7 separate regions of the Homo sapiens genome follow, and all the other regions are linked to region 1. The links are contacts of gene promoters, found by promoter capture Hi-C in blood cells and fetal thymus (Javierre and others, 2016). All regions are on one chromosome and are shown on one strand. The core of a region is centred on a gene start or on the middle of the fragment in contact, and the rest is flanking DNA. Distances in the headings are between cores, read along the strand shown.

Region 1 (3,773 bases), core at 679-3,178:
GTCTAAACGGTTACATCACAAGCATCAGACTGAAGTGACTATATTTAACCCAGTATTCTGAGAAAGAGGAACCAGAAACTACTGTTGGAACATTATATGGTTATGTGCCCTATAAAGGTAAGCACCTTCAAAAGGAAAAATCACATTCAGAGTGTGGTTGATAACTTTACTATTATTTATGCACCACTTGTGAATACTGAAAGGCTTAAAGTGAGCATTTGACACAAAAGAAGTTAAGCCCATGCAGAAAACTGCCTTTTCCACTCATCTTAAAGTAGGAAGTTATTTTTCAGACCCAAGTTTTTAAATTTTACTTTTAAAAGTTTTATAGTAGACAATATAAGTAAAAACAAAAACTTCGTTTAACATACTTCTAGAAATCTTGGATATTATTAATTTGGGGCCTTAGGCACAAAGAAACTATATTCATTCTTGCTTTGACCCCCATAGCATTTAAACAATCTATTGAGTGGTAATTTGTTTTTGAAGGAACATGCTACATGTTTTAAACTATTTTATAAAAGAGTCCCATACACTAAAGAAACATGCATTATGGATAACTTTTTGAAAGAAATTCTAGATCAGCACTGTCCAATAAAATTGTCAATGATGAAAATGCTGTATTTCTGTGCTGCCCAATATGGCAGCCACTAGCTGCAGGTGACCAGCAAGCACTCAAAAAGTATTTAGTGTACCTGGGGAACTAAATGTTTTATTTTATTTAACTTATAATTTAAGTTTAAACAGCCACACATGGCTACTGGCTTCCATACTGACCAGCACAAGTCTAGATTTTCTGGTCATTTACCTCAAACACACACACACAGGCCCACTAACTTAAAAAGCAATCACCCGAAATCTAGAAGAATCCCTCAAGTCAAAAGAAGGTCTTAGTTAAGAGAGGACTTGTTTTCTAGTCTCAAGAAACAAAGTCATTGGTTTCATTTCATTATCGCATCTCAATATAAACATCAAGTGGACAATACTGAGGGGGAAAGGGAGCTTGGTGCAGATACCAACAGAAGTTCCTACCATCATCATACCTGAAGTAAGGGCTGATTGCAGCAAGAACGTTTCTATGACAGGAAAATGTTTTCCCGTGATCCACTTCCACTACAATGTCTGTCAACTGTCCTTCATCGTACATTGTTTTGAGTTGCTTAAGAATACTGCAAGCATGGAAGGGGTCCATGGCATCGCTGGCTGGGTCTGAAGATGGAATCCCATTCGGTGTTGGGGAAGACTTACTTAAATCTAGGAGGAGAAAAATCGTACAACTACAAGAAGTGCCGAGCCAGTTACGGCATCGCGGGATTTTTCTGTTTGTGTGTCTGCTTGCTAGGCTTTTTCCCCCTACAAGATATATACAAATGTCTGTGGATATACGCACGACCTCGTGGGACCGCGAGTTAAGGATCTGGGAGACAGAGGGCGGAGCGCGATCGGCGGAACAAGTTCAAAGGCCAGCCTGCTCCTGCGGAGCCCGGCGAGCCCGGCACCCGTGCTCGCGGAGGAAACGCGCTCGCAGCCCAGGAGAGGCGTCTGCGCGGACTCCGCCGAGAGCCGAGGGCAGAGCCTCACGAGGGAAGCTCGAACAACGGCGGCCGCCGGTGCCCCCTCAAGCCGCCTCCCGCTGCCTCCTGGGGCGCAGCGCCGGCGGGTACCCAGCCTCCCCATCCCGGTCCCGCCGGACCGCCCACCGCCCTCCGCACCATTCATCCTCCCTCTTCTCATTCCCCTCCACCGCTTCATCCTTCCCTCTAGCTCCGCACCGCTACGTCCTCATCCCACTGCCTGTGGCCGGCCCCGGCCCACCTTCCCCCTCACCTCCCTCCACGCCGCCCTGGCCACCACACGACCCACCTGCCGACGCGGCCATTTCTCGATGGGGCCCCGACTCCAGCTATTTAAAAAGGAAATGTCATTTCGCTTCTCTAGCTCCCGGGTTCCGGCTCTTCTAAGCTTCCCCTGGCCAATGGGGTGTCCTGTGCATCTGGCTCCACCCCTAGCCTCCGAATTCCTGGCGCTGATTGGCCACGACGCGAGCACATGCGTGTCGGGAAATGTAGTTTGATTGCCCCGGCTCCCGCGTGGTCCGGGTCGGGCGGAGGCCCAAGCCGGGAATTCCTATTGGCTGATTCGGATGGAGGTGGAGAGCAGGGAGCTGGCCAGCCTGTGGCCGTCGAGCGCGCAGTGCCTGCCGGGAGAGGTAGTCTTCTGGCGGAGGAGAACTGTCATTCTGAGGGGCTGGGGTAGGGAAAGCTCTTCAAGTGCGAATTTCCCCATTTTAGGCCTCTCTCCTGGCCCCCGGCACATTTTTTTACCTTTTTCTTCTTCCGTAAACTTCCTGCCAGTGACTAGCTTCCGGTATGAAATCAAGCTCTGCGTGAGAGCTGTAAAACCAGAAAAATGTGGAAATGGACAGGAGGGCTGTTGTCCAAAAATGCAAAGGAAATCTGACGTCCCACCCTGAAGAAAAATATCACAAGGCCCAAAAGCAAGGCGTCTCTGATGAGTCACCTATGACACCCAATTGAAATAGCATCGCCTTGGCCGGGTGCTCTGGTTTCCACAGATTAACTTGGTCTGGTTACAGCGGCTGCTTAGGATCTTCAACTCCCACTGGTGCCTTGCTTTTCTAGCACACCCAGAGAACACCTGTTCCTCACGTGAACATTACAAGGGGATCCAAGATGCTTTACTTTTTGCTCTTGGGAAATGGAGGGGATACAATACTAAGTATTCCGGAATTTCCTTTGAAAAAATACCGGAATGCCCTGAGCCCGGAGCCAGGGATGATTACTGAAGCCCTGGCTCTTTAGTCACTATATGTGAGAACTGACATAAGACCTTTCAACCCCTGAGCGCTTAGATCCTTCATCTGTAACGTGAAGTAATAGTAATCCGTACTCCATGGATTTCATAGGCTGCAACCTTTTGGAAAGAAAATCAAAATTTTACTGTTGACGAATTTTTATTTACTCATCTTGTGTTTCTAACATCTAACGGGGTGCCTGGCACATTATAGATGTTTCATATTTTAAAAATAAATGTAAGGTGCAAATGAGCTAACATTGGGAATGCTATTTCTAGATGTTAAAATGTAAGGAAGTATCAGCGAATGGGAAGAATTTCTAGTAGACATATAGTTAGCCCGTGTGCATAACTTTTCTAGCACTGAAAAGATCAAACCGTTGAACTTCTTGATAAAGAAAGGATCTTGGAATTTAAATTGTGATTGAGAAAGAGAAATAATTATGAAAAACAATTCAGTTCTGTCTTCTAGGTCTGCTGAGAAATTTAGAACTTAAAATACTATAATCCCATGCAAGTTAACAGGAAGTGGTGTTTCCTCATGACTGGGGTTTCTGCATATACATATGCACTTATAATTTCTTCTTTGTGAATGTCCTGTATGCACGTTTCTGGATAGATGAAATTGACTTAATTTTGGTTACTCATAACTTTATTTTTTCGTTTTTATGATGTTGCTTTCTAATTTATTAAAATGGTAGCACTTTATGACAATATGGTTAGTATTGAGGAAAAAAATGGCGTTAATCCTTAGGGTTTGACAACATCTGACGATATTGCAAATAAAAATACAGGGCATGCATTATTTGAGAAATATTTAAACTGAAATATCATTTGTTGTTTATCTGAAATTTAAATTTAATTGGGTGTTCTGTATTTTATCTGGCAACCTTTTCAAATCTGTTAAAATAGAGGAGTTTTGTTTGTGCTTTGTTGTTGTTTTGTAGCCATCTATCTAT
Region 2 (3,805 bases), core at 1,136-3,635, 1.9 Mb before region 1:
TCATCTGTCAGTTTTCTTTCCAACTTCTGGAAGGATTAATGGGTTATAGGTTAGGCTCACATGGGATGGAAAGGAGGAAAGAGGGAGGAGGCAGCTGTGATATTGCGCATCAAAGGTATAGTTTTGTCACCTCTGAGGATGGAGAGTCCTGAACCTTTTCTGTGCCATCGGTCCCTTTGGGAGTTTGATGAAGCCAGTGGATCCTGTCTCATAATAATGTTTTAAAAACACATAAAACAGGGTGATGAAATAATCTGTACATCAAACCCCTGTGACACACAATCCACTTATATAACAAACCTGTGCATACACCTCTGAACCTAAAATGAAAGTTTAAAAAACCCACATTAAACAAAATTCACTGGCTTTCAAAGGAAGCCATTATATGGAAATGTAGTGATCAAAACATTAAAACATTTTATGATATAGAATATGTGTGCTTCTGTATTCATTTAACAACATGATCTTCAAGCAAGCCTGTTAACTACATATAATTATGAGGTTGTTGATGGACACACATTTTGAGGTCTTGCTGATAAACTTTAATGAGATTTGAAAGTACCTATGATTTCTATTTGCGGCCAAGTCATAGGAACTGCTAAATGGTTTGTTGCTGACGTTTATAATTGAAGGAACAGATGAATTTCAAATAGAGGCTCATAAATATTAAGATGTCATTTTTTTTTCTCATCCCGGTTTATGGACCCCTGATTCTGTGCAAGGACCCCAGGTTCAGAATCCCATTCTCGAGGCTGGCAGTTGCTTTATAGCCTATGCTGAAGCTCCTGTTTTCTAGGTGGGTGGGCGACCCTTTGCTCCAGCTTCTGACTACCAAGAGATGCTAGGAAGGAAGACATTGGTTGAGTAAAAGCATTGGCTAGCACTGTGCCTGCCATTGTTACAGGACAGATAAATGTTAACAAGAAGAGGGAGGGTGCTGGGATGCTCTCCAGAGTCCTGTCCCTGATTTTTTTTAATTTTTTCAGTTCCTTTCGTCTATTATAGAAATGGCCATTGATTGGGAGAACCAATGATGTCTGAAATTACTTATTAGATTGAAAATACTTTGGAAAGTGATTTTACTAACTTGGGTTGTCAGGTTTTCTCAAGCAGGATCTGTTTGCTGATTGCTACTTTGCATAATATTGTAGGATGAACAGGCCTGCTTCTTGTTTGGATGTCAAGTGTTTTCATGTCTGATAAGGTTCTGGTTGTTTCTCATACCCATGTACAAAAATATATACATATAAGGGAAACATGTTAATAGAGGAAGACCAAAAGACAAGGTTGTAACTAGAGTGTGCATACAAAATATGAATGAGGCTGGACACAGTGGCTCATGACTGTAATCCTAGCACTTTGGGAGCCTGTGGTAGGTGGATTGCTTGAGCCCAGGAATTCGAGACCAGCCTGGGAAACATGGTGAAACCATGTCTTTACAAAAAATGCAAAAGTTTTTCAGGCATGCTAGCATGTGCCTGTAGTCTCAGCTATTCTGGAGGCTGAGGTGGGAGGATCACTTGGTCCTGGGAGTTCAAGGCTGCAGTGAGCCATGATCATGCCACTGCAGTCCAGCCTGAACAACAGAACAAGACCCTGTCTCCAAAAAAAAAAGTGAATGATATAGGTATTATCTGAAAGAAAATGGTGGTATGGGTAAAAGAGAGGGAAGAGTGAATGCATTGATTGTGGAATACCTGCTTTGAGATCTTAGAAAGACAGAGTTGCCCGATGGTTAAGAGGGCAGACTTGGGAACCTGGCTTCATATTCTAGCTTTGCCACTTGGTAGCTGACCTTGGACAAATCACATCACCTCTCTGCCTCCACATATCCTTCTTTGTAAAATGGGGATACTGATAGCAACTGCCTCAAAGTACATTAGAGGGGATTAAATGAGTTAATGCATTGAAAATTCTTACAGCAGAGTTCTTATATAGGCTCTAGAAATGATTTTAACTGCTGCTGTTATTAATGATAACAACTATTGTTAGTACAGGTGCAATTTACAGAGCCCTTCACTATACCATGCCTCATTTGAACATTGGACGGACCCTGGTAGTTATTTCCAAATCTATTTTCAGATAAAGAGCTTGAGGTTCAGAGAGGTCTAATGATTTGCCCACTGAAAGGATGTAAACAGTGAGGACAAGAACCCAAGCCTTGGGTTGGCAAGATCTGCCCTCCTTCCAGTGTGTTCCACTGTGTTTGGTATCAGCCAAAGTCAGCTTTTGCAGTTTGTTTCAGATTTTACAAATAGAGAGGGCTTATCCTTCAAGGATCTAGTGCTATTCAATATAACTTTCTGCAGTAGTAGAAATAAATGTTCTAGAACGGTACTGTCCAATATGACAATATTACCATATGGAGCTATTGAGCACTTGATATATCGTTCCTGGAACTGATGAACTTGATTTTAAATTTTACCTAGTTAAATTTAAATTTAAATAGTCATGTGTGGTTAGTAGCTACTAATTGGGTAGCATAGACAGAGTTTCCCTTGTCTCAGAAGGCTTGGGTATAAAGCCCAGCTCTACAACTAATTAGCTTTGTAACTTTGGGAAGGTAATTTCTGGGGGCTCATTTCTTCCTATCTATGAAATGGGCTAATTCTATTTAGATCAATACAGAACTCCAGCGAGGCCAAGCAAAGATAAGAATTTTTTTTTTTTTTAAGTGAAATAGCTGTAGGAGTTCTTGAGGAATTCAAGGGAAGGCACAAAGGCAGGCCAAGGAAAGTCTTGGAACTAAAAATAGAATGACCTTCAGGGACCTGGATCATCCTCTTCTAGTCTTATTTCTGTTTTGTGTGCATCTGTGTCACTCTTGTCTCTGTGAAGTCTGGCTTTCTTTGTACCCCCTGCATGGATGAGGAAAAGCTGGCCACCTCATACCTCCTAAATTTATATATTTCTCCCTTGACAGCTAATTCTGGAATTATTAGCTGTTTCTCATTCTCAATTCTAAGTTGCAGGAAGAGGAAAGTTCCCTTGGCTTGGCTTGAATTAGCCATGGGTGGCTGAACTACATAGCAAACCATGCTGCCCTGCCCTTTCTTAGAAGGTTTGATGGGGGCTGGGGATGTTCCTTAGTGAAAGCAGTAGTTGTGAATTGGGTCAATGTCTAGGAAAGTATCTTTGGTTAAAAATTTCACTGCAAGGTGGAAACTGTGATTGCAAAACCAAATTTATTAGGTAAAGGAAATGGGATAGCCTGATTAAGTTTAGGTGTTCAAATCCATTCATTGATTCAGCAAGTATTTGTTGAGTGCTTTGAACTTGCTCTGTTAAGGGCTAGAGATGAGAAACAATACTGAGAGAAGAGGCCTGATCTTTGCCCTCACGGAGCTCCAGTTTGATAGGGAATTCTCACGAGAGTATAAAAAGGCAGTTCTAGAGAGTACCAAGAAGAAAAGACTAAAATTTGGGATTTTAGCTAGTGAGTAGAGAGTGCTTCTCTGAGGCAGTAATATTTGCCCTGAGATATGAAGGATGAGTAGGAGTTAACTTAGTGGAGGACAGAAGAATGTGTTTGCCTCTGAACAGAAGGACTGCCATGTGCAAAGACCCTGTGGCAGGAAGGCTGGAAAAAGCTGGATACTATTGGAATTATATTGCTTCTGTTCCTTCTGGCCCCAGTTACCAAAGTTACTATGGAATTAATGGTTTCCAGGCAGCTTTATTATTATTATTATTATTATTATTATTGTTATTATTATTATTATTATTATTATTATTATTATTATTATTAAGAGAGAGTCTCGCTCTGTCACCCAAGCTGAAGTACAGTGGTGCAATCTCGGCTTAC
Region 3 (3,823 bases), core at 966-3,465, 1.9 Mb before region 1:
GCACAGATGCCTGGCTTATTGCTTTCTCCTGCCACTTGGAGGAATAAATTATCTTCTGCATTTGCTTAAATGAAAAGCCTTCAGTGGATTTCACTTTGTCTTGCACTGTCTAAAAAGATTAAAAGTTTGCAAACTGAAGTCTCTTTTGAATAAGAAAACACATGTAAAGAGCTTGCTTTTTTTTCTTCACTTGTTTAAAAAAATTGGAAGTTTGTGAAATATTTTGGAGATAATCTGAGTTATAGAAATGTGTGGGTGTTGGCAGGAAGGTTAGAATTGGCAACCACCAAGCAGAGCGGATGGACTGGGTCAGAGTCATTTAACCTCCTTCGTCTCCAGAGCTGTGTTTTAATTACATAGCTGGTTTGTGGAACTGTGATCCCCTCTTGCGGGCAGCAGGGTGTTGCGTGCGACTAGGTTTGTACTAATACTTCCTTAGGAGCCATCAGTCACTGTTGTCCCCTCGGCAGGTTTTCACATTGGTCATCTCTGCCCAACTGTCAAGATGCTACAGTTCTCCTCCCTGGCTGCCGACCCTTTTGGCCTTTGTCCCCCCAGCACTCAACCCCAGACAGTTAGAAGATGAGGTTTCCAAGTTGAGTGGCAGACGAAGGCCCTGCTGGAGATGGCTTCTATGGAAGACTAAACAGCAGAAGCATCCAAACAACAAAATTGTCCTAATTTTTTTAAGAACAATATCTGCTTTTAGAAAACCATAGTCTTTGATTTACTGTAGAACATGGCATGTGTGGGTGGTACTGTCTGCTGGCTGGGAATGGCTGCTTAGTGTTATTACAGCCACTTAGGCTGCATTGTAGGGGATAGTGGTGCCACTGGTCATAATACAGGGTCACAGTGACTTTGTAGAACTCCTGCAGGGAATACACAAGTTGTAAAAAAAAAAAAAAAAAAAAAAATTAGAGAAAAAGTAAAAATCACTTCTAACTCTCTCTACAACCCATTTCTATCTCTCCCTTCTCAGATACTATGAAGAGTTTGGGCTTCTGCGCATATTTAAAATATTTAGTATACATTATGTTTCAAAGAAATCCAAACATGAGCAGGAAGAATGGACTGATGAAGACCTGGTAGATTCTCTCTTATCATTTGAAGTTGATTTGTATCAATGCCAACTAATCAACAGAAATAGGAAGCATATTTGGCATTTAACTTTATTTAAAAAGTATAATGTGAAAATATCAAAATATATTAAACTTTGCTATTTATGTTAGTTATGTATGGTTACTAAATATACAGTCTTGTGTGTGAATTTTTTCACTTAAGTAGTGTCATTTTATACATCTGATTCTATAGTTTGTATTTTTTTGCTTACTGGTGTCTTGGAGATTATCCACGTTTATACATACACAGGTCTCACTCATTCCTTTAACTACCATATAGTGTTCCACTATGAATGTACTGTATTTTATTTAGCTGTTTCCCTACAGATGGGCATTCAGATTTTTCCCAGTTTTTTCTACTACAGAGAGTATGATGATACCATTCTTGAACAAAGTCATATATGGTGTTAACTGAGATGTGGTGTTTACTGTTTAAAGCCTTCTCATAATTACAATCTCTTGGTACCCATGTGTTTGCATTTTTCTAGGGTAGAAGTGTAATTGCCTGGTCAGAGGGTGTGTTTTAGAGCATTAAAAACACCAATGCACTAGTGGCTTGGGAATGTGTCTGGAAAACGTGGGGACTGCAGAAAGTCTCTTATCATTATGTTCTCTTGGAATTCAGATATGTTAACTCCAGAACAGGTCAAGTCCTAGACATTATCAATAAAATCTGTAAGTAGAATCTTACAAATTCCTGTATGTTTCAATAGAACTTCCCTGTGATGGTGGAAATGTTCCAAACTTCTTGCTGTTCACCGTGAGAGCCACTAAGCAACATGTCACTTTTGAGTACTTGAAATGTGGTTAATGTGACTCAAGAAGCAAATTTTAAATTTTCTTTAATTTTAATTAATTTAGCTTTAAACTTAAATAGCCATGTATGTGTAGTGGCTGCCCGATCGGACAGCGCTGGTGCAAGGTATGCATCATCATAAAAGGTAAGGCCATTGTAATTTACTACAGTCCCAAAAAGTTTTAGAGAGTGACTCATGGAGAAATGGAAGTGTAGTCTATTTTGTTCGATCAGGGGCTCGAGACTCTTGAGCTGAAAATAAGGTGATAAGTAAGTGAATGAAAACAAGACGATGTCATTAAGATTTATCAGGCATTTTCCTCCTTGTTTAGAGACTCCTGTCTGCTCTGTCCTGACGGGGGCTGCCTGCTGGAGCTGCACAGTCCTACTGGGGCAGTTCTTTGTAAAGTGAATTGATGGCTATGTAAATACAGCCATTAACCTTAAGCACCTCAGACAGCTCCTTGGGCGCTGCTGTTTTCTTGCCCTTGAAAATGCTGGTTGATGGATGCCAAGATGTTTTTTAAAAATTGTTTTTCCTAACTGGTTGAAGCAGTGGACTTGGGAAGCTGCAGGGAAGGTGACAGAATTGAAGGCCTACTAAGTGTGAATCCTATGGCAGGGGTTTGGAATTTCGTTCTTACAGAGGGATATTTTGAAGGTTTACTCTTGGTATACAGGAAATAGGATGCTGTATATGTCTGTGTATATGGTATTTTTAAAAAACAAAGTGAATTGCAATTTGAAAGTGCTGGTTACAGAAAGTTTATAAAAATCTGGTTTTAAAGCAAATGGAAGAGGCTGGGCATGGTGGCTCACACCTGTGATCCCAGCACTTTGGGAGGCCAAAGTGGGCAGATTTCTTGAGCCCAGAAGTTCGAGACCAATCTGGGCAACATGGTGAAACCATGTCTGTACAAAAAAATACAAAAATTAAGCAGGCATGGTTAGATGCATGCATGTAGTGCCAGCTACTTAGGTGGCTGAGATGGGGGGATTGCTTGAACCAAGGAGGTCAAGGCTGCAGTGACCCGTGATTGCACCAGTGCATTCCCGCTTGGGTGACAGAGCAAGACCCTGTCTCGAGCAAATAAAAATCAAATGAAGTTTTATAATTTAGGAATTTTGTATATATTTTAAAATTAGACATAGCTTGCAATGAAAACAAGAGCTTCTTTTTCGTTTCTTGAAAGACATTTTTAGAAGTAGATTGAGTGAGGATGACAGAGGCAGAAGATGGATAAGATTCCCATGTTGAAAATCTATCTGGAGGTAGGACAAGCAAAAGTTACATTAGAAGTAGGGTCAGAGGATGACGGTTGACAGTGCGCTGATTTTTTCTCCAGTGTCATTTGCGACCTCTCCCCCTTCCTCTGAGGTAACCACACTGACCATCTCTCATTTCTTACCATACAGTGAATGTGTTCCTTCCTTGTTCGGTGGCTCTGTACCTGATTTCCTTTCCCTGGAATGTGAAATGTGTTTGTGTGTGTGTGTGTGTGTGTGTATGTGTGTCTGGCTTCCTCTCATTATTTAAGTCTCAAATGTTGTCTCATGAGAGAAAACCTTAAGCAATAAATCCCTAACCTACTCAAAGCTACAAAGATCTGGCCTGCTATAAAGTACTGATGGGAGTTTCCAATTGATGACTATGTGAAAATGCTTCGAAAACTACAGCTCATTGTATAAACGCACATTATCATTACTCCTAAAGATCTGCCAGAAGCCACGTTGCCATCTACCAACTTGTCCTGATCGTCCACAAACTGGGTGTCAGAGTGAAAACTCAGAAGTGTTGAATTCAGAGCTTAGGTTTCTACCTTCCCACTTGGTTCTAGGTAAATACCATTGTTCCTGGGAACTTTCTTTTTTTTTTTTTTTTTTTTGAGACAGAGTCTCGCTCTGT
Region 4 (3,756 bases), core at 395-2,894, 2.0 Mb before region 1:
TCTTTGCACTTTCCTGGGTTCTTCTCTTTGCAAATGGAGAGCCCCGAACGGCATCTCAGGGCATGCCCTTGGTGAAGGGCATCTCAGCTCACAGATTGCCTGCTATATGACCTTGGGCAAGACATTGAACCCCCCACTCCCTGGGCCATAGTTTAGGAAGACCTACCTTAAAATAATTTCTGTTAAGGATCAGCAAGTAAAACCTGGTCTGTTACAGGAACTCCAAAAAACTCTGGCACTCCGAAAAAGGGAGAGAAAAATGTGCTATAATATTTCACTGGTTTGGTTGGTGAGGGGAGCACATCTCACTTATAACTCCCAGGCCCAGCTTGGGAAATTATCACCAATTGTAGGGTGGCTCTTCACTCCTCTCTGCTTCTTTCCCCATTACCTTTTCCATCATTTCTACTCAATAATTAATATGGAAAGGCTTTTCTTTATTGAAACAATGCTCCCAAAAGGTTTTTTACATCTTCTCTAGGTTGTTTCACTTGCCTTTTATCTGAACACTTGAAACACATTTAGACAGAATAGGTTTTATCTGTTATTTTTGTTCCTTTTTATTTCGTATGTAGCTACTACTTGTAGTAGTATTCCATTATAGAAATATATAAAAATACTGCTAGAAAAAAAATCACCTAAAGGATACCATATTTCTCCATCCTGACTTAAGCTGTGCACACACACCCCTCCACAACACTCCCTTAAACACATACATTTACACAAATTTTACACACATATATGTATGTAGAGGTAACTTCTTTCATGTGAGGCTATATATATGTGGGTGTGTGTTTGTGTATATGTATAATAATATATTCATTAAATGCATATTGTGGATAACCTGTTTACTAACAGGATTTAATGAATACCTCTCCACTACCATACAATTATTTGCATCAACATTTTAAATTTCTGTGGATAATTTCATTAAGCCAATCCCATATTGTTGGACAGTTAGACTCTTTGTATTTACTATTAAAAAAACAACTGCCCTCAATATCCTTGCATAAAAATCTTTGTGCATCTGTCCAGTTACTTCCTTAGGATAAATTCCTAGATATGGCACTACTGGGTTCCAGGGCATGCACACTCTTAGGGATTTGATCACATATTGATAAATTTAAATTTCCATCCAGAAATGTGGCACTTTTTTTTTTTTTTTTTTTTTTGAGAGATAGAGTCTCACTCTGTCACTTAGGTTGGAGTGCAGTGGTGTGATCTCAGCTTACTGCAACCTCTACTTCCTGGGTCCAAGTAATTCTCCTGCCTCAGCCTCCTGAGTAGCTGAGACTACAGGCATGCACCACCATGCCTGGCTAATTTTTATATTTTTAGTAGAGATGGGGTTTCACCATGTCGGTCAGACTGCTCTCGACCTTCTGATGTCAGGTGTTCCTCCCGCCTTGGCCTCCCAAAGTGTTGGGATTACAGGCGTGAGCCACTACACCCAGCCAATGTGGCACTTTTAATCTAACCCCTCAGCAGAAATGTGAGCATCCAATTACCCCCCCCTTATTCACTGGATATTCTAAGTTGATGGACGCAGAGTAGCAGAATAGCTTTTACACAAAATATTGTGTGAAATATGGAAAAGATTTCACATATGGGATCAATCTGGTTTCCTATATTGAAACAATTCTAAATACTCTGGTTAGCAAGGCAAGTTTCAACGCTGATGTACAAGACAAGGATCATGACTGAATAGAAAGTATATCTAGCTCTACAGGGCTGGACCACACACCAGGAACTATTGTTTTTGATTGAATAGATCAAATAAAAGAGCAGTGGCGTACATTATTTAGACAGCTCAGTGGCTGTCACTTCTCAAACTAGGTTAAGTAAAAAGGGCTACACAGGTTAATTAAAAGATAACACCATGCAGTTGGACACAGTGCTTGGGTAATTGTTTCTTCCACTAAGGTAAGTATGCAATGCATATCATAGAGGTTTAGAACAAAAAAAAAAAACTTGTGTGACAAAAATGGGACCTTTGTATTTAAAGCTGAAGTGCTCTTCTTATGTTAGATATTTATAACCTAGACACATAATGAAACATTTTCAAAATTATCTACAAACATTGAATAGCAATACTGATCAGTGGACTTGGATTGTTTGTAATTGCATAAAAAAGATGACATTAAAAAACCTTTTTAGGGGCCAGGCACAGTGGATTGCTCTTGTAATCCCAACACTTTGGGAGGCCAAAGTGAGCAGATTGCTTGAGCCTGGGAGTTCGAGACCAGCCTGGGAAACGTGGCAAAACCCCATCTCTACAAAAAATATGAAAAAATTAGCCGGGCATGTTGGCATGACTACAGTCCCAGCTACTCAGGAGGCTGAGCAGAGAGGATCCACGGGCCCGAGAAGTCAAGGCTGCACTGAGCCATGATTGCACCACTGCACTCCAGCCTGGGTGATAGAATGAGATTCTGTCTCAAAACAAAACAAAACAAAAAAATCCCAAAACCTTTTTATATGGTTAGCTTCCAAGATACGCAAAAGTAGAGTGAATAGTACAATGGGCGCCCACATACCCATCACTCACTCACAAGTCATCAATATATGGTCACTCTTATTTTATCTATACTCCACTCCCTCCTGCACTGGATTATTCTGAAGGAAATTCTCAATGACATATCATTTTATTCATAAATATTTTAGTGTACGGAAAGGTGATTTTGACAGATTGATCCCAGTTTAGTTTTTTGATCCAGCCTTATCAGAATATCTTTGGAAAACATGATTAATTATAGAACCTCAGAAAAATCATTTGACTTCTCTAAGTCTCAGTTTCCTCTTCTGTAAATGAGATACTTAGACATCATAGTGGTGATACAAGGATTATAGGAGATAGTTCAAGATAACATAACATCAAAGTGATGAAAAAATTTAAATAATCTAAATAATCATCATTGCCATTATCATCATTGGAATTCAGATTTTATAGGTAAATGACACAGGAGCATTGAAAAGTGGAGTAATAAGATGTAGGGACTTAACCATAAAAATGAACAATATAATGGCATTCACAGAAACCTGGTTGGAGTTGGAGACCATTATTCTAAGTGAAGTAACTCAGAAATGGAAAACCAAACATCGTATGTTCTTGCTTATAAGTAGGAGCTAAGCTATGAGGATGCAAAGGCATAAGGATGATACAGTGGACTTTGGGGACTCAGGGGGAAGGGCAGGAGGGGGGTGAGGGATAAAAGACTACACTTTAGGTACAGTGTACACTGCTTGGGTGACAGATGCACCAACATCGCAGAAATCACCACTAAAGAACTTTTCCATGCAACCAAACATCACTTGTTCTTCAAGAACTATTGAAATTAAAAAAAAAAAAACAAAATATCAAAAATTTCAAGCCTGAAAAAAAAAAGATGTGGGGGCTTAAGAAGCTGCTGGGAGAGATGAAGATGGAAAATGTGGCAGATGTATTTGAAAAAGATGGGTGAAGTAAGATATACATGATGAAGGAGCATCAGCACAGACAGCCAACGTTCAGGCATGGGGGAGAGTAAGGACGTGAGTGTCTGATGGTGGTGGTCACTTGTCAGTGTTCTGCTTCTAGGCAATAGGATAAGAACTTGGGGAAGTGAAACATCAGTAGAAGATTGACGAGGAAGAGACAGAACTTGAGTTTCACAAATGTTAAATTCTATTAAAGGTCAAATTCTATCATAGTAACAAATACTACTATAATGGAGAAGTTGAGCTGTATATGGAAACAATTTTTAAGTCTTGCCTGAT
Region 5 (4,149 bases), core at 578-3,077, 1.9 Mb before region 1:
AGGGATTTGCTAAGCAAATAAATGGTGTAAATATATTTACCAAGGAGCTGTTCACGTTATCTTAAAAAATCGTCAAGTGCTTTGGAAGCATTTATTTAACATGAAGTCAAAATGCTTGTGCCTTCTCTCTGCAAAGTCCTACCTATGTGACCCTGGGCAAAGTTATTTAATCTCTCTGAGCCTCAGTTTCTTCTTCCTGGAAGTGAGTATTACAACATCCCCTACCTAAAAGTATTTTTGTGACATGAAATGAGACAATTTATCTAAAGAGCTTGGTATTATGTCTGGAATTTAATGCATTTTCTTATTTATTATTGCTACATAATAGTTGTGCATATCTTTGGGGTACATGTGATATTTTGATACATATATACAATGTGTAATGATCAAACCAGGACAGTTGCAACATCGATCACCCCAAACATTCACCCTTTCTTTATGTTGGGAATATTGTGATTCCTCTTCTCTAGCTATTTTGAACTAAAACTAAATTATTGTTAACTATAGTTACCGTACCATACTATTGAACACTACCTCATATTTCTTCTCTCTAACTGCATTTTTTTAAACTATTAACCTCTGTTCATCTCTCCCTCCTCCCAACCCTTCCTAGCCCCTGGTAACCACCAATCAACTTTCTACCAGTATGAAATCTACTTTTCTAAGCTCTCACATATGAATGAGAGCATGCAGTATTTATTCTGTGCCTGGCTTATTTCAGTTAACATAATGACCTTCAGTTACATCCGTATTGCTGCAAATGACAGGATTTTATTCTTTTTTATGACTGAATAATATTCCATTATATATATATATGTACCACATTTGCTTTATCCATTCATCCAGTGATGGACACTTACGTTGTTCCCATATCTTGGCTGCTGTAAATATGGCTGCAATAAACATGGGAGTATAGTTATCTCCTTGATATTCTGGTTTCCTTTCTTCTGGATAGATATCCAGCAATGGGATTGCTGGATCATTTGGTCCTTTTAGTTTTAGTTTTTGAAGGACCACTGTATTGTTTTCCACAGTGGCTGTACTAATCTACATTCCCCCAATGATGTATGAGTGTTCTCCTTTCTCCACATTCTTGCCAGCATCTGTTATTTTTTGTCTTTTTGATAAAAACCATTTTGACTGGGGTGAGATGATATCTCAGTGTGGTTTTGACTTGCATTTCCCTGTTGATTAGTGATGCTGAGCATTTTTTCATATACCTGTTGGTCATTTGTATGTCTTCTTTTGAGAAATGTTTATTCAACTCTTTTGCCCATTTTAAAACTGGATGGTTTTTATTTTTTGCTGTTAAGTTGTTTGAGTTCCTTATATATGCTGCTTATTAATTGATTGTTGGATGGATAGTTTGCAAATATTTTTGGCCTTTTCATAGGTTATCTTTTCACTTTGCCGATTGCTTCCTTTGCAATGCAGAAAATTTTTGCTTTTGTGACCTGTGCTTTCAAAGTCTTACTAAAAAAATTTTTGCCCGGACCAATGTCTTGAAGCATTTCCCCAGTTTTTGCTTCTAATAGTTTCATAGTTTCAGGTGTTAGACTTAAGTCTTTACTCCATTTTGATTTGATTTTTGTATATAGTGAGCGATAGGGGTCTAGCTTTGTTCTTCTGCATATGGTTTTTCAGTTTTCCCAGCACCATTTTTTGAAGAGACTGTCCTTTCCCCAATATAGGTTCTTGGTGTCTTTGTCAAAAATGAGTTGGTATTGTAAATAGTGCTGCAATAAACATTCGTGTGCATGTGTCTTTACAGTAGAATGATTTATAATCATTTGGGTATATACTCAGTAATGGGATTGCTGGGTCAAATGGTATTTCTGGTTCTAGATCCTTGAGGAATTGCCACACTGTCTTCCACAATAGTTGAACTAATTTACACTCCCACCAACAGTGTAAAAGCATTCCCATTTCTCCACATCCTCTACCGCATCTGTTGTTTCCTGACTTTTTAATGATCGCCATTCTAACTGGCATGAGATTTTGGAACCAACCCAAATACCCATCAGTGATAGACTGGATAAAGAAAATGTGGCATGTATACACCATGGAATACTATGCAGCCATAAAAAAGAATGAGTTCATGTCCTTTGCAGGGACATGGATGAAGCTGGAAACCATCATTCTCAGCAAACTAACACAGGAACAGAAAACCAAACACTGCATGTTCTCACTCATAAGTGGGAGTTGAACAATGAGAACACATTGATACAGGAAGGGAAACATCACACATCAGGGCCTGTCGGGTGGGGAGCAAGGGGAGGGAGAGTATTAGGACAAATACCCAATGCATGCCGGGCTTAAAACCTAGACGGTTGGCTGATAGATGCAGCAAACCACCATGGCACATGTATACCTATGTAACAAACCTGCACATTCTGCACATGTATCCCAGAACTTTAAAGTAAAATAAAAATTAAAAAAATGAGTTGGCTGTAAATGTGTGGATTTATTTCTGGGTTCTGTATTCTGTTCCACTGCTCTATGTGTCTGTTTTTATGCTAGTACCATGCTGTTTTAATTACTATGGCTTTGTAGTATATTTTGAAGTCAAGTAGTGTGATGCCTCCAGCTTTGTTCTTTTTGTCCAGTTCGGATTGTTTTGGTTATTTTGGGTCTTTTATGGCTCCACATGAATTTTTGCATTGTTTTTTCAAGTTTTGTGAAGAATGTTACTGGTTTTTGATAGAGATTGCATTGAATCTATAGACCACTTTGGGTAGTATTGACATTTTAACAATATTAATTCTTCTAACCCATGAGTATAGGCGTGTTTCTTTTTTTGTGTGTCTTCTTCATTGACTTTCATCAATGTTTAATAGTTTTCTTTGTAGAGATTTTTTGCATCTCTGGTTTAATTTATTTCTAGGTATTTTATATTCCTTGTGTCTATTGTAAATGATGTTGGTGCCTTGATTACTTTTTCAGATTCTTTGCATATAAATGCTATGGATTTTTATATGTTAATTTTGTATCCTGCAACTTTACTGAATTCACTTATCAGTTCTCAGTGTTTTTTGTTGGAATCTTTAGGCTTTTCTAAATGTAATGTCATGTCATCTATGAACAAGAATGATTTGTCTTCTTCCTTTCCAATTTGGATGCCCTTTATTTCTTTCTCTTGTCTAATTGCTGTGGCTAGAACTTCAAATGTTATGTTGAAAAAAAGTGGTAAATTTGTGCATCCTTGTCTTATTCCAGATCTTAGAGAAATGTCTTTCAATTTCCCCCCAAGCAGTATGTTAGCTGTGGGTTTGTTACGTATGGCCATTTTTGTTTTGAGGTGTGTTCCTTCTGTACCCAATTTGTTGAGAGTTTTTATCATAAAAGAATGTTGAATTGTGTTGAATCCTTTTAAAACATCTGTGGAAATGATCGTATGGTTTTTGTCCTTGATTCTGTTAATCTGATGTATCATGTTTATTGATTTGCATATGTTGAACCATCTTTGCATCCCTGGGATGACATTGATTATTTGATCATGGTGAATGATCTTTTTATTGTGTCATTGAATTTGTTTTCCAGTGTTTTGTTGAGGACGTTTACATCTGTGTTCATCAGGGATATTGGCTTGTAGTTTTCTTTTCATTGTGTCCTTATCTGGTTTTGGTGTAAGGGCAATGCTGGCCTTGTAGAGTGAATTTGCACATATTACCTCTTCTTCATTTTTTTGAATAGTTTGAGTATAATTGGTGTTATAAGTAGTTCTTTAAATATTTGGTGGAATTCAGCAGTGAAGCCATCATGTCCTGGGCTTTTCTTTGATGGGAGATGCTTTATGACTGCCTTAATCTCATTATTTGTTATTGATCTGTTTGAGTTTTCTATTTCTTCCTGGTTTAATCTTGGCAGGTTGTATGTGTCCAGGAATTTATTCATTTCTTTTAGCTTTTCGAATTTGTTGGCATATAGCTGTTGATGATCCATTGAATTTCTGTGGTATCAGTTGTTATGTGTTCTTTTTTTTCTTTCTGATTATATTTATTTGGGTCTTCCCTCTTTTTATTCTTAGTCTAGCTAAACGTTTTTCAATTTTTTTATCTCTGCAAAAAAACAACTTTTTGTTAATCTTTTGTATTTTTTAAAGTTTCAATTTCATTATTTCTGCTCTGGTATTATTTCATTCCTTCTACT
Region 6 (3,901 bases), core at 763-3,262, 2.0 Mb before region 1:
CATCTTGAAGACTATCCAAATATTCTTCAACATGAGTATAGGAAGAAGTGCCTCCTTCCCAAATGGTGGATAATTTGGACTTGGGAAACATGGAAAAGAAGCTTTTGGAGGTGGTTCTTATTCAATAATGTATGACTTCCCTGAGGAAGGATCAGTCAGGATTACTGTATTTTATTATTAAAATTTCCTTTCAAACATATTTTATTTTATCTGAAGTATTTTATCTCAGGAAACCATCTAGAATCACTTCTTTTAATTGCCCTTTATTTATTATTGAGCCAGAACAGGGACATTTCATTTTAGATGGTGTTGAGAAGGGCCTTTATTAGAATGGCATTGGAGGAACATGGAAAGAAGGCTTTTTTTTTTTTTTTTCACATCTAACAGATCTCAATAACTTTGAAATAACTGTAATATGTGCAACATAAAATTTTCAAAATCTGAGAAAAGAATGCTATAAAAAAGAGACATGAACATAATGTATAACTGTAGAGCTTGAATGTAGTGCTACAATGCATATTTCTGATTTCTATTGGCTGAATTTTTCAATCTAAGTGAAACCATTTAAAAATTAATTGATCTTCTTAGCTAATGGAGCTCATAATCAACTACTTTTCAAAAAATAAATCAGGCTGGGTGTGGTTTCTGTAATCTCAGCACTTTAGGAGGCCGTGGTAGGCGGAGCACTTGAGCTCAGGAGTTTGAGACCAGCCTGGCCAATATGGTGAAACCCTGTCTCTATCAAAAGATACAAAAATTAGCCGGGTGTGGTGGCGTGCGCCTGTAATCCCAGCTACTCGGGAGGCTGGGGCAGGAGAATTGCTTGAACTTGGGAGGTGGAGGTTGCAGTGAGCCCAGATCACGACATGGCACTCTAGCCTGGGCAACAGGGTGAGACTCAGTCTCAAAAAAAAAAAAAAAAAAAAAAGCATGTGGTAATTATACTGGAAAGAACTAATTCCTGCTGAAAGGCAGCTGTCAGATGGAAGTGGCAGCACAGGCTGGGTTGAATACCAGCTCTATAACTCAGCTGCTTCGCAATGTAGGCAAATGACTTAAAATTGTGTCTCAGTTTCCTCATCTGCAAAATAGAGAAAATGATATTATCAACTCATTAGGCTTGTGGGTGGCTTAATGTACATTAATAATATCAAGTGCCCAAAAAAACTGCCTGGAACATAGGAAGTATGTAAGATGCTATTATTATTATATAAAGTTGTTATTGACACCATTAATATTAATGGGAAATTACCACTTTTTATTCACTAGTCAATGGGTGGGGGGATATTTCATAGAATTACATATGTTATATATTTTTATTTTATTTTATTTTATTAGAGACAAGGTCTTGCTCTGTTGCCCAGGCTGGAGTATATGGCATGATCATAGCTCACTGCAGCCTTAAACTTCAAGGCTCAAGTGATCCTCCCACTTTGCCTCCCAAAGCGCTGGAATTACAAGCATGAGCCACTGTGACCAGCCTATATTTTTAATGTTAAACCTTTCTTTTTTTTTTTTTTTTTTTTTTGAGATGGAGTTTCGCTCTTGTTGCCCAGGCTGGAGTGCAATGGCATGATCTCGGCTCACTGCAACCCCCGCCTCCCAGGTTCAAGTGATTCTCCTGTCTCAGCCTCCCGAGTAGCTGGGATTATAAGCACATGCCACCATGCCTGGCTAATTTTTGTATTTTTAGTAGAGATGGGGTTTCATCATATTGGTCAGGCTGGTCTCAAACTCCTGACCTCAGGTGATCTGCCCGCCTCGGCCTCCCAAAGTGCTGGGATTACAGCTGTGAGCCACCGCACCCAGCCAGTGTTAAAACTTTGAACCCATTTTCTTGCTCTGAAATTTTTTTCCAAAGATTTTTCATTCACCCTGATGGTTTTTGCACACTGAGCATAAGAGTGTGTGTAAACGGTGGCATAGTGTGTGTTGTGTGTATCTATAATTTGGATAAGATGTTCACAGGAAAAAGCCCTGAACTACAAAGATGTGAGAATAAAAGAAGTTAAGGTAGAAAAATGAAACACTATTAATGGCTAAGAGTATAATTGTGATAATTATTTCTGATGATATTTCATCAAATTAGGCATTTGCTCTGGCCCAAGATGAAGATCCATTTTGCTTGTATGGATTTTATGAACTTGCGTAGGATTGTTAGTTTTTAACACAGGCAAATTCAGGTATTTTGTTGCATCTTTGAAAAGTCATGTTATATCCTTTTATTGCCCTAAAACCTTGTTTTGTTTCTACTTTCAGAGTTCTTACGGATATGGTGACCTATTCTCCGACACATGGAATGCATTTACTGATTATGACGTTATACATTTGAAAACTTATGATTCCAAAAGGGTACTGGAAATTTTCCTGAAATGTCTGTGAATATTTCTTGAGTGCAGATGACTCACTCATAAAATAAACATTTATTATGAGTTCCTATTAGCCATTACCACTGATTTCTGAATTTCTGAATTTCTTTTATAATTAGAATCCTCAGTGTTGTTAATCATGCAGCCTTTGAAAAGTTTTTTCTATAATCTTTCCAAAAATATGAATTCTGTTCTCTTTGAATGAAATAGTGTGCTATTCAAGCAATGCAAAATGGAGATTAATTAAAATCTATTTCTCAAAATTATACGTGCTATTTTTGGTGTGAAGGGTGCAAATTACATCTTCTTTTAATGTATCTTTGTTCTTAGGTATGTTTTAAAGAAGCTGTTTTTTCATTACTCCCCCGCATGAGGTATGGGCTGTTCTATAATACTCCTCTGGTAAGCACATTGTCTACCATTAGCATTCATATTTACAGACATAACATTTATACATAAGTTGACAGTATCTTAAATTATAATACAGAAGTATTCATTGTAATATGAACCAGTGTTTTTATTTTAGATATCTGGCTGTCAAAATACTGGACTATTCAGGGCATTTGCCCAGCATGTACTACACAGACTAAACATCACACAAGAAGGACCTAAGGTAATGGATACACTGCGGATTCTGAGGTGGGCTTGAGTTTTCTTCCCTAATAAAAATCGATACCACCTTTTCAGAAACAGAAATAATCAGGAGACCATGTTTTTGTGTTAACATTTTCTGGGGAGGCCAAGGCAGGTGGATCACTTGAGTCCAGGATTTCAAGACCAGCCTGGCCAACATGGCAAAACCCCATCTCTGCAAAAAATACAAAAATTAGCTGGACGAGGTGGCATGTGCCTGTAGTCCCAGCTACTCAGGAGGCTGGGGCATGAGAATCGCTTGAACCCAGGAGGCAGAGGCTGCAGTGAGCCAAGATCATGTCACTGCACTCCCGCCTGGGCGACAGAGCAAGACTGCCCCAAAACAAAACCCAAAAACATTTTCTGACCTGGAGTCATCTGAAACCAGGTGTCAAAAACCTATAAAAGAGAAGCTAAGGGATATTACAAGAATGTGCTTCCTCCTGTCCTCCTTTCCCCCTTCATTGGTTATATCTCCCTCACCTCCCCAAATGTTCATGTAACATACACAACCCCTGCCAAAAAATTCACCCACCCAACCAAACAGACAATGTAATGAGCTGGTTTTTGCCTTCGGTGGTTGAAGTGGATACATTTTTATTCCCTGAGAGTGGTGAAGGAATCAAGCTAAAAAAGAAGAGTTCTATTAATGTATCCTGGTTGAGTTTCATCTCTTTGTGAAAATCACATTTTGGGTTCAGATGTTCATTCATCTACCCAGGCATATGCAGTGTTATTTTACCGTTTCATTTTGATTACAGGATGGAAAAATTCGAGTCACCATTCTTGCACGGAGCACAGAATACCGGAAAATCCTTAACCAAAATGAGGTTAGTTTTTGGTATGCATTTTTAATGCCTTCATATTCAATTCATAGAGCAAATTGTGTTTTTTTTTTT
Region 7 (4,066 bases), core at 1,567-4,066, 1.1 Mb before region 1:
GCCTGAAGCCCCATATGGCAACTACTGGTTGAAACTGAGTAGCAGAAGTCTCCCTTAACAAAAGCATAGGAGCTTCAGTTTCCTGCAGTCCTCACCATCCCCTGTTGCGGTGCCCTTGATTCACCTTGATAGTCTATATTACCTACCTCCTCCCAACCCCAGAAATAGCTTGGTTTGAGACTACTTAGTCTACACAAAAATAAGATTATTAAAGAAAAAAATAAGTGATAGTCACTAAGAGGTTTTGGCTGTTAGAAATGTAGTAGCAAAAGATCAACTGATAGCATCTAAAATAAAATACCACATACTTATGTCTAGTATATGTTTTTTGGAAGCATTGAACCCCCTACCATGTCTTTGGAAACAAAAACCATATCGTTTGAGGTATCACTTCTACATTTCCCAATAAAAAGAAAAATTTCTCTTTGATGAGGGATAAATGTGATATATTCAGGGCACACAAAAAGAGAGAAACCATGCTGCACCAGTGGTTCAACCTCCCCCTCCTTTCCTGAAGGGTGTTTTGTGGAGAAAGATGACCTCATCCTCAAAAATAGAGACATTTCTTGAGTGTTCATAATGTACCTTTAATCGTCAACTACAGTTTTATTCTTCATGTACATATCTGCTCTTTTTTGGAATCTACTTCCCTTTCAAGACACTGCACATGATCAATAGTGCTTATGACCTATGCAAAATGCACCTGTGATTCTGGTCTTAAATCACTGCTTTCAAGCTTCAAGCAAATCCCCCTTCCCAGCTTTCAGTGATGTGATAAACAAGTGTATTTTCATCCTGCCTGTACCCTCTTTAATTCTGAGGATGTATATGCCATTCCTACTCAGACCTTGTATCCCTGCACTGATTCCCACTATGCCTTTTAACCTGTTCTCATGGAGAAATCATTCTAGCATGCTGAATGCACTCGGTCTCCTTTCTCAGGACTTCTCTCAGGACACACAGACTGAATTACATGTAGAATTCCTGAAATGGGAAGTTTATACAAACAGAGAAATTTATCAAGCACCATAATTGTTTTTAAAATTATATATCATTTTCATAATCAAGATGAAAACACAACTCTCAACCTGACACTTAATAAATCTCCTTTTCAAAGTCTTCTAGCTGATATATACCGTCTGCATATAGCATCAATGAGAGAGACAGACTCGCATATGCCATGTCATGGAGCTTTCCACGGGGAAGTTTCACAGTATTCTCATTGGCTGCTGTCCACTCGGTTTAGGCAGATATTTATTTTCTACAACTGTTAGCTCCATCTCCAAACAAAGCTGAGAAAGAGATCCAGAGAGAGCCAGCAAGAAAGAGAGTACACACACGCTAAAGAGGAATATGGTCAGTACACACTTGAACCTATGTCACACCCACTGTGGATCTGTTGAATCATCCATCCTGACAAGCTGGTTTGTGATGGTGAGACTTGAACAAATCCATATTTTCATTATATAGCGCCTAACCACTAACAAGAGCAATCAAAAGCCAGCTAATTGAATTATCCATGAGCCCATTTAAAGAAGAAATATTGCTCAATAAAATTATACAGCCTTTCTCAAGCCCACCCCTCCAACTCTTTTATCTTTTCTCTAAGGTATATGTACGTGACATCCATGACAAAGACCCACAGCTCAACAGAGACTGACCCAAGAGACATGGAGGCCAGTTTCTCCACATTCACAGGGGCCAGAGTAATGTTATGCATAAGCAAACAAGAAGCTTACTGTAAAAACATGATGCAAGGATTTCTGGAGAAGGACCCACCATCTCATTTGCTGGTCTAGAATAGTCCACACACCTGTCCGCTTCTCTGCCTGAAATTCTACCGGCCTAGTTTCACTCCGTCAAGGTAAAGTGTTATGGCCTAAAACAATGTTCTTTAAAAATATCTGCCCCAGGCTAACTTGAAGTTGCATCAGTCAGTTTTATGGCCAGTGTCTGCCTTTGCTTGTTTCTACCCATGGAAACCATGTAATTGAAGCTGCTGTGTGGAGGTGGTGCCACAGGAGAAGGCTGAGGAAGACAGGGATTGTGAAAAATTGTGAGGGCACTGGCAATTTAGGAAGTTGACATCCCCAGAGGGAAAAAGGAGATTCTGAAAGACACACACACACACACACAAACACACACACACACACACAGTTGCAATGGTGGACTTTTGAGGTGATGAGGCACATAAGTCAGAGAAAAATATGGAGGCATCAAAAATAAATTTTCCTTCCCAGTTTTTTGTGCGTGTGTGTGTGTTTTTTTTTTCCTTCAGTAAGCCTTGATTATACATGGAGCAAGCCCCTTTAGCATTCAGGAGTAAATTCTCACTTCAGCCTAAAGAATGCCGTGTGCTTAGCTGGCTCCTCTAGCCCCCAGAGGAGGAGGCCAGGAACAAGCCTGCGGGGGCTCCCCAGCTGCCTCCCAGGAATAGATTTATTTGCACCCAGCAATTTAGGCTTAGGTGCTCTTCTAAGTAAAAACAATTATGCTCATTCCACCCTGGCACTTGGGTTAATAATTCCCAAATGAGTCAGTAAATCAAACAAGCACACTTTTACAAAAGATCTTATTTTCTCTGATTCTTTAATTCATTTAGCTAGGGCTGGCCCTTGGCTAAACTGTGGACTAGATAAAGACTATTCATTATTGGCTCCCTATATCCCAGGCCCCTCTGTCATTGTGCAGACACACACTGAGTGCCCCTTTCTTACTGTAGAGGTCAAGATACTGCTGTGGTCCCTTACCTGCATCTGCACTCTCTACCCAGCATTCCCCCTCTTGCTCTCAAAACCCACCTGTCCTGTGTTCTGCTCTCTCAGAGATGGGTACTGTTCCTTCCAGGGTAGCTTATTAGTAGGTAGAATATAGGCTGTGCAGCCTGGCTCCCTGAGCTCAATTCCCATCTCTGCCATTTACTAACTCTGTGACCTTGAGGAGGTTACTTAGCCTTTCTGTCTCAGTTTCCTCATCTACGCATTCAAATAATAGAATCTACTTTCCAGGGTTGTTATAAGGAACAAATGTTTCATATATATATAACATTTCTGGTGTGTGTGTGTGTGTGCATGCGTGTGTGTGATTAGTGTGTGATTAGTGCTGTGCCTGGCACTTTCCATGCACCCAACGAGCATTTGCTATTGCTACTATTATTATAAATGACATATAAGTCATAGTCCTCCAATTGTATGGTCTTCTTCTCCAGGCTGTTCACACAAATTTTCTCCAATATGTCTTCTCAGCTCCTGGAGAAAGTTTGAAGAGGCAGTAAAGAAGTGCTTTGATATCATTTATACCATGAAAGTGATAGAAAAAATAACTTATTACTCATTATCATGTGGGAATTTTATATATAATAGCAAATATCTCCACAATTTGGTCTCATCTTCAGCAATCACTGGGTGGCTTCTGATCCTGAAACCTCCCAATTTACAACCCTTTTTTGCCTTGCCACCAGAGCTCATCTTTGTAAATAGTTATGGACTGAACCCAAAGATACAGCAGCCATAGAAAACGTTATACAAGCCTTTTTCTATGGACTATTCATTTAAAAATAATAAAACTATAGCTTTTACACGTCTGAAAACAGGTATCAGTATACAACTCTGTTCAACAAGCAGCAGCCAGTTGTTTTCTGAGAGACATTACTAAATGTGTGTGGCTTTGTGTATCGTTTTAAGAACATTTTTTTCTTTACCTCTGGAATTTAGAAACTTATTATATTTTCAAAATTGACTCAGCAGTGAAGAACTGAGAAGTCAATCTCAGCTATGTCTATTAATAACTCAGAGATCTTGTGAACATTCATTATCCTCCCCAGGACTCTATGTGTCTATCTGGGAAATGGTAAGGGAGAGAAGGGGAAAATGATCTTACAGAATTGATTCAAGCTTAAACACCCATATGTGAGAACACCTTATAAACTGAGATCATCACAAAATAAAGATCATTATTGTTATGTTGCAATAATAGTCAATGTTTTTGAGCTGTTATTATGTACTGGGAACTCTCTTAAATGCATTTTCTAAATTATCTTGCTCAATGCTTATAACAACAATATAAG

Evidence for each region. The method cuts DNA at HindIII sites, captures the fragments that hold promoters and counts their contacts. A CHiCAGO score of 5 or more calls a contact.
Region 2: a contact is called between a fragment that was not itself captured here and the fragment with the promoter of KBTBD8 in region 1, in 1 of 17 cell types (endothelial precursors). The highest score is 6.5, in endothelial precursors.
Region 3: a fragment that was not itself captured here is called in contact with the fragment with the promoter of KBTBD8 in region 1 in 2 of 17 cell types (M0 macrophages and M1 macrophages); the score reaches 7.8 in M0 macrophages.
Region 4: a fragment that was not itself captured here is called in contact with the fragment with the promoter of KBTBD8 in region 1 in 1 of 17 cell types (M1 macrophages); the score reaches 5.2 in M1 macrophages.
Region 5: a fragment that was not itself captured here is called in contact with the fragment with the promoter of KBTBD8 in region 1 in 7 of 17 cell types (naive CD4 T cells, total CD4 T cells, total B cells and 4 more); the score reaches 8.5 in naive CD4 T cells.
Region 6: a fragment that was not itself captured here is called in contact with the fragment with the promoter of KBTBD8 in region 1 in 4 of 17 cell types (M0 macrophages, M2 macrophages, M1 macrophages and 1 more); the score reaches 13.8 in M0 macrophages.
Region 7: a fragment that was not itself captured here is called in contact with the fragment with the promoter of KBTBD8 in region 1 in 5 of 17 cell types (naive CD4 T cells, activated CD4 T cells, total CD8 T cells and 2 more); the score reaches 9.2 in naive CD4 T cells.

What each region holds. Positions count from the first base shown.
Region 1 is chr3:66,996,462-67,000,234 of GRCh38, reverse strand. KBTBD8 (kelch repeat and BTB domain containing 8) reads right to left here and starts at 1,928. Exons shown (of 4, transcript NM_032505.3): 1 at 1,864-1,928; 2 at 1,044-1,254. The coding sequence starts at 1,879. RefSeq lists enhancers at 108-207, 2,171-2,270 and a silencer at 1,511-1,830. The HindIII fragment of the contact is 2,180 bases long and covers 1-1,964 here.
Region 2 is chr3:68,900,184-68,903,988 of GRCh38, reverse strand. The region is part of intron 1 of TAFA4 (TAFA chemokine like family member 4); the gene reads left to right. Among named protein-coding and RNA genes, the nearest start is that of TAFA4, 30 kb to the left of the region's middle. The HindIII fragment of the contact is 5,376 bases long and covers 1-3,805 here.
Region 3 is chr3:68,917,734-68,921,556 of GRCh38, reverse strand. The region is part of intron 1 of TAFA4 (TAFA chemokine like family member 4); the gene reads left to right. Among named protein-coding and RNA genes, the nearest start is that of TAFA4, 13 kb to the left of the region's middle. RefSeq lists an enhancer at 2,009-2,611. The HindIII fragment of the contact is 5,451 bases long and covers 1-3,823 here.
Region 4 is chr3:68,958,963-68,962,718 of GRCh38, reverse strand. No RefSeq gene overlaps it. Among named protein-coding and RNA genes, the nearest start is that of TAFA4, 28 kb to the right of the region's middle. The HindIII fragment of the contact is 6,744 bases long and covers 1-3,756 here.
Region 5 is chr3:68,868,859-68,873,007 of GRCh38, reverse strand. All of the region lies in intron 3 of TAFA4 (TAFA chemokine like family member 4), which reads left to right. Among named protein-coding and RNA genes, the nearest start is that of TAFA4, 62 kb to the left of the region's middle. The HindIII fragment of the contact is 7,699 bases long and covers 1-4,149 here.
Region 6 is chr3:68,987,376-68,991,276 of GRCh38, reverse strand. It overlaps EOGT (EGF domain specific O-linked N-acetylglucosamine transferase), which reads left to right. Exons shown (of 18, transcript NM_001278689.2): 11 at 2,260-2,352; 12 at 2,700-2,771; 13 at 2,896-2,982; 14 at 3,764-3,832. Among named protein-coding and RNA genes, the nearest start is that of EOGT-DT, 24 kb to the left of the region's middle. The HindIII fragment of the contact is 3,818 bases long and covers 104-3,901 here.
Region 7 is chr3:68,058,275-68,062,340 of GRCh38, reverse strand. All of the region lies in intron 2 of TAFA1 (TAFA chemokine like family member 1), which reads right to left. Among named protein-coding and RNA genes, the nearest start is that of TAFA1, 56 kb to the right of the region's middle. The HindIII fragment of the contact is 2,159 bases long and covers 1,737-3,895 here.